2 separate regions of the Homo sapiens genome follow, and region 2 is linked to region 1. The links are contacts of gene promoters, found by promoter capture Hi-C in blood cells and fetal thymus (Javierre and others, 2016). All regions are on one chromosome and are shown on one strand. The core of a region is centred on a gene start or on the middle of the fragment in contact, and the rest is flanking DNA. Distances in the headings are between cores, read along the strand shown.

The links. Contacts are between HindIII fragments. The CHiCAGO score rates a contact against its expected background, and 5 or more counts as called.
Region 2: a contact is called between a fragment that was not itself captured here and the fragment with the promoter of MEIG1 in region 1, in 5 of 17 cell types (total CD8 T cells, naive CD4 T cells, naive CD8 T cells and 2 more). The highest score is 7.4, in total CD8 T cells.

What each region holds. Positions count from the first base shown.
Region 1 is chr10:14,957,846-14,960,810 of GRCh38, forward strand. MEIG1 (meiosis/spermiogenesis associated 1) reads left to right here and starts at 1,543. Exons shown (of 3, transcript NM_001080836.3): 1 at 1,543-1,712. RefSeq lists a silencer at 1,766-1,815. The HindIII fragment of the contact is 3,683 bases long and covers 1-2,517 here.
Region 2 is chr10:14,193,936-14,196,900 of GRCh38, forward strand. All of the region lies in intron 2 of FRMD4A (FERM domain containing 4A), which reads right to left. Among named protein-coding and RNA genes, the nearest start is that of FRMD4A-AS3, 120 kb to the left of the region's middle. The HindIII fragment of the contact is 9,275 bases long and covers 1-2,965 here.

The sequences.
Region 1 (2,965 bases), core at 293-2,792:
CCATATTGGCCAGGCTGGTCTCGAACTCCTGACCTCGTGATCTGCCCACCTCAGCCTCCCAAAGTGCTGGGATTACAGGTGTGAGCCACCGCGCCCGGCCTTGACTTAGGTTTTAAACAGATTGCATTGACTGTTGTGTTGACAACAGACTACAGAGGGGGCATAGAGAGCTGTTGGGAACGGTTGTAATTACCAGAAAAAAGAAAAATTATGATGGCTTGAGTAGAAGCTATAAAGTCAGCAGGTTGCATTGATGGATATGGAAAGAGAGGGCTCTAGGCCACATCTACTAAAAGACATGAAGAAGGAGCAGGGTTTTTGTTTTTGTTTTGGCAGGGAGGTGTTTGGGGAGGTTGTTTTGTACAATCAAGTGGATGTTGAATATACATTGATATACAAATCTAAAGTTCAGAGAAAGACCGGGCTGAAGAGAGAAATTTGGGAGTTGTAAGTAAATAGTTTTTTGTTTTTAGTTTTACTAAGTATTGCCTTTGTTTTAGTATGACTCGTTTATTTAGAAGTTTATATAATTTAATTTGTGATATGTCTTGTGTTTTTGTTTTGTTTGGGGCAGGTGCCCGAGGCCCTTGTCATCTTCATTGACTCCAGCTCATGGCTTGTATTTAACAACGAGCTCAGAAAAATTCCTAAAAATTTAATTACTGAGTCTCCAGAGCTCTAATGAGCTGGCTCCAGCACACAATTGCTCCTTTCTTTCATTCAACAATTTGACAAGTCCTGATGGCTCTACATTCAAAACATGTAAATTGGCCGGGCGCGGTGGCTCACGCCTGTAATCCCAGCTCTTTGGGAGGCCGAGGCGGGTGGATGACGAGGTCAGGAGATCGAGATCATCCTGGCTAACACGGTGAAACCCCGTCTCTACTAAAAATACAAAAAATTAGCCAGGCGTGGTGGTGGGTGCCTGTAGTCCCAGCTACTCGGGAGGCTGAGGCAGGAGAATGGCGTGAACCCGGGAGGCGGAGCTTGCAGTGAGCCGAGATAGCACCACTGCACTCCAGCCTGGGCGACGGAGCGAGACTCCGTCTAAAAAAAAACAAAAACAAAAAAACAAAAAACCGTATATCTTGAATCTGATCACTTTTCGCTTAGATAGTACTGTAATATAGTAATAGATAATGCTAGAAAAAATAATTAAAGCTATAGATATCATCTATTGTAGGTTTACTGATTGTCAGGCACTATGGCGACTCTCTGGAATGGTTCATTCCTCGCAAATGAATAGATAGGAGATATCTACTATCAGGAACTACAAACACAGTCTCCGTGCTGTGATCCGCTTTCACAGGGAATTTTGTCTGGGATTCAAGTAGCGGCAAGTAACCCTTTTTCGCCCTCCATCTCTGCTCAGGGGTGAGCCCTGGCAGCGCTCCTACCTGGGACCTACATTGGCTTAGTAAGATGGGCCGGCGCCCACCCCAGCCCTCGCGCATGCGCATAAAAGCCCACTCCCGGGGGCGGGGCCTGAGCTAGCTGGGCGGGGCCTGAAGGAGCCGGGAGCTCCTGCAGCTTCATCGCGTTACTAAGAGACGCGAGGGTCGCGAAGGGCACAACACTTGGCCTCTCGCTGGCCCTGCTCGCGGATCCCGAGTAGAGAACGCAAGCACCCACGCCCGCCTGCAAGCTCCCGGGCGCCCCCGGCCTCTCCTGCTCGGCGGAACGAGGATAACCCAGTAGAGCCGGACCCAGGGGTGGGTGGATGCGTCGCTGGAGGCGAGGGCCCTGCCCGCCAACCCCTGCGCCCCGGCCGTAGCCCCACCCCGGAAGTTCTTGCCCCGCCTTCTCGGCTCCGCAGTTCTCTGCTGTCTCCTGAGGTTTGCCAGGGAGATCCCGTGGTTTTCATGTCTCTTCCGTGATTTTTAGGGAAGAGGGTCACTATTTGGCCCTTCCAGAATCTCAGGGTCCGGTTCTCCCGGAAGTTTCCGGGCCGCCCCGGACCCCATTGGCTTTAGGGGCCGCGTCTCCGAGGGCTCCGATTTGGGCCCTAGATTTTGGAATACTGTGTTTTGTCCGTCCCAGCCTTCACCAGGCGGATTTCATCTCCCACACAGTTAGTGATTTATGGCAGAAAGGAAGCTGGAGGGATGGGGACTGCAGGTTAGCTGTGAGGGCCGGAAGGGAGCGGTTTTGTGCTGCACACAGGCAGGTCAGCACTCCCAGAGCAGGGACCGCCGGGCGTGCTTTCGGAACCGCTTTTGTCTTTCAAATGAACGCCCAGCGACAGCAGACGGGAGTTCCAGGACCTTAGAGACCGGCTAATGCTTCTCTTTAAGTTAGGAAACAGGCGCAGGCGTGTTCATGGCCTTGCCTAAGGTTACGTGCTGGTTACAGGGCTCCTCCTGCTGCCTCTTAAGAACAGAAATAATCTAATAGGAGGAATAAAAGGGACTATTAGGGAGGCTAATGCTCTTGAAGTTTTAATACTACTAAAAGTAAAAGCGCTTTTCAGAGTGAAAGGGAAGTGAAAAGGGAATTTGGGTGGCTGGCTACATCAGAAGCTTCTGTTCCAACTTTAGATTGTCAGGGAGTTGAGATGGTGTTTTTTGTTTTTATTTTTGTTTTAGTTTTTTGAGACGGAGTCTCGCTCTGTAGCCCAGGCTGGAGTGCAGTGGCGGGATCTCGGCTCACTGCAAGCTCCGCCTCCCGGGTTCACGCCATTCTCCTGCCTCAGCCTCCCGAGTAGCTGGGACCACAGGTGCCCGCCACGATGCCCGGCTAATTTTTTGTATTTTTAGTAGAGACGGGGTTTCACTTTGTTGGCCAGGATGGTCTCGATCTCCTGACCTCGTGATCCACCCGCCTCGGTCTCCCAAAGTGCTGGGATTATAGGAGTGAGCCACCGCGCCGAGATGGTGTGTTTTTAAAATAACGTGCCCGAGGCCGGGCGTGGTGGCTCACCCCTGTAATCCCAGCACTTTGGGAGGCTGAGGCAGGCGGATCACCT
Region 2 (2,965 bases), core at 162-2,661, 760 kb before region 1:
AAGTTGATACATACAAACTATGGAAATTCCCTTTCTTTTTTAATTCCATGAAGATCAGACTTTAAGACACAGAATTTCCATGCATTAAATTTACATAACTAGCTATACATGTTGGCAAAAGCACAAACCTGCAAATGAAGACCCCAGGGGGTTTCCTCTGTGATTTTAATTCTCATTTTTATACTTATCTTCATTTTGCAAATTCCCTACAATCAGCTTCTATAACCACAAAAGTAAAAGCAAATAACAAAGCCCTCTAGCGATGTGAGAACATTCACTTATTCCTTCCTTGACTCATCCATCTCTGCGTTCCTTCATTCACTCGTCAGCCCTACTACTTCTCACAGCACTATGCTGGCATTGTGGGGAAAGGGTATTAAAAAACACGGAGGAGGCCGGGTGCAGTGGTTCAGGCCTGTAATCCCAGCACTTTGAGAGGCCGAGGCGGGCGGATCACGAAGTCAGGAGATCGAGACCATCCTGGCTAACACGGTGAAACCCCGTCTCTACTAAAAAATACAAAAAATTAGCCGGGCGTGGTGGCAGGCACCTATAGTCCCAGCTACTCGGGAGGCTGAGGCAGGAGAATGGCGGGAACCCGGGAGGCGGAGCTTGCAGTGAGCCGAGATCGCACCACTGCACTCTCGCCTGGGCGACACAGCGAGACTCTGTCTCAACAACAACAACAACAACAAAAAACCAAGGAGCATTCCTACTTCCTGCTTCAGGAAATGTTCATTTCTGAGATGTCAAGAGGATAAACTTTCTGGAATCTCTTATTTTATGGTTCTCTCTCTTTTATCTCCTTAAAGCACGTAAAATCTTCTTTTGGTTCTAAGAAATATTATTCTATTTATAGTATTATTAATCTATATTATTATCATATTATATCACATTCATTTATGTAAAATCATTATTAATCTGTTAATAACATTATATTATTCTCTTCCAAATGCCCTTTGAAAAATAGCTTAGCTGATTTTTCAGATACTGTTAGCTTGAAATCATGAACTATATCCAGGTCTTAAGAGAAGTGCCCCTATTTCATTTCAGATTGGTCAAAGTATTAAATCATCATCTCTGTTTCCTTACATTTTTCTTTCATTCCTTAAAAGTGAAATAGCAATTCTTATTCTCAGGGTAGGCTCACACAGAACAATAAGAATTGGTAGTAGTAGTAGATGCTATTTCTTTCTCCCAAACATCAAAAATAATCCACCAGATTCCCTTGGCATTCCCTTTTATGTAGGCTAGATGTCCTAATTCTTATTTTTGCTTGAGTGGAAACAGGCTCAGCATGTTTAAGGATATTACCTGTTATAATCCAGTAAGTTAGAAATGGGGCAAGAACCAGAAACCGAAGCTCCAGAATCTGTTTTAGGAATTCGGTGGAATTTAAAAAGAATAAAACCATACCTAGGAGGGAATCACATCTGCCTGAGATAGTATATCTTTCTGACAAAAGTAAATTGTCTCCCCTGTGTTTTCTTTCATTAAAAAAAAAAAAAATCAGTTGCCATCAGAAAATAGCAGAGGGAACTCGGGCTGCAGTTAGAGACTGAAAACTACCTGTACAAATTATTTCCCTAAGGTTCCCATACTTATTCCATTCTCTCCTCGGATAACAAATAAACTTGCTCAGTTTTGAACATCAAGTCTGACTCTTCGTGCAGTGAGCTCTCCAGGCGTCCCCCGTTGCAGGGGGAATCAAGCTGGGGCTAATCAGTTTCTTACATGATTCCCAGCAGGAAGGTGGTAATATTCATGACTTCAGAGACCAAAATGAAACCAGCTCCTTTTCTGAGGGCAGAGCCCAGGATAAAATTAATAGTAGCAACTCCTTGGATCCAGTGTACTGTGGCATCCTGCGTGCAAACAGCTCAGGAAAGGTTATAGAGAAGGTGCCTGTTGTATGTCCTGTCACAGTTCTTCACTTACATTGAACACATACAAACTACGAATCTAAGCCTGGTAGTTCCTTACGACTTCACGACACTCTGAAAAGTTTTGTTCAGTATGTTTACAGAGCAGCTATTATGTCTCTGCATGAGATTTTGAGAAAGATCAGTGGAGGCAGGACATGAACAAAGGCTTTTCCAGATAAGGCAAGTCAATTAAAATGGACAGAGACTGCAAAAACAAATTCTGATTCCCATGCTAAAACCCTTCCAGCTTGACCATAAACACACAGGTGTGCACATAAACATATATACTCACATGCACACACATACACACACACACACACACACACACATCCTTGCACCAGCAGTCATGGAAATATGGCAGGAATCCCATTACTAGAAGGCTGAGAGCTGAGGCTGGGTAAGACCAGCTATTCTGCTCAACTCAACCTTGAGCTACTCAAACTTGACCCACCCTCCAAGGACTGATCCCAGAGTCTCTGCCAGGCTGACCTTCACCCATGGACCTAGTAGCCCAAGCTGCAAGAGTTCCAGACAGGCTGTAAAACATTAAAATGTTCCTGTTATCCAACAGCTTTAGGGCACCTGAAGGGCATAAGTTATTCAAATCAAAGGCTAATGTTCAATTTAAATGAAAACCTGAAGGCTTTGATTTTACACAAGAAAAACAAATACTTTTTATATTTTTATAATTTCTAAGCAAAAATAATGCCCAAACCAAAACAATACTTTCTACATAATTCCTAGATATGGATAAACACTGACATCTATGTGGTTGTCTAAAAATCTATTACAACAGAGTCTAAAGTGTACTTTACATTGTTTGGTGTTGGATTAGAAATGCCATTCTTAATGTAAATTGCTAGCCCATAGAAATCATTCAATAAATGTTAACTATTATTGGGATTACCAGTGTTAACTGTGATTGCTTGAATCCAAATATAAAGCGCTAGACAATTCATTCCCATCTTTATGTCCAGTCGTAGTTCTCTAAATGGTTTGGGCTAAACTTCTTACCCTGGGGAGGAATGACAGAGAAGGGA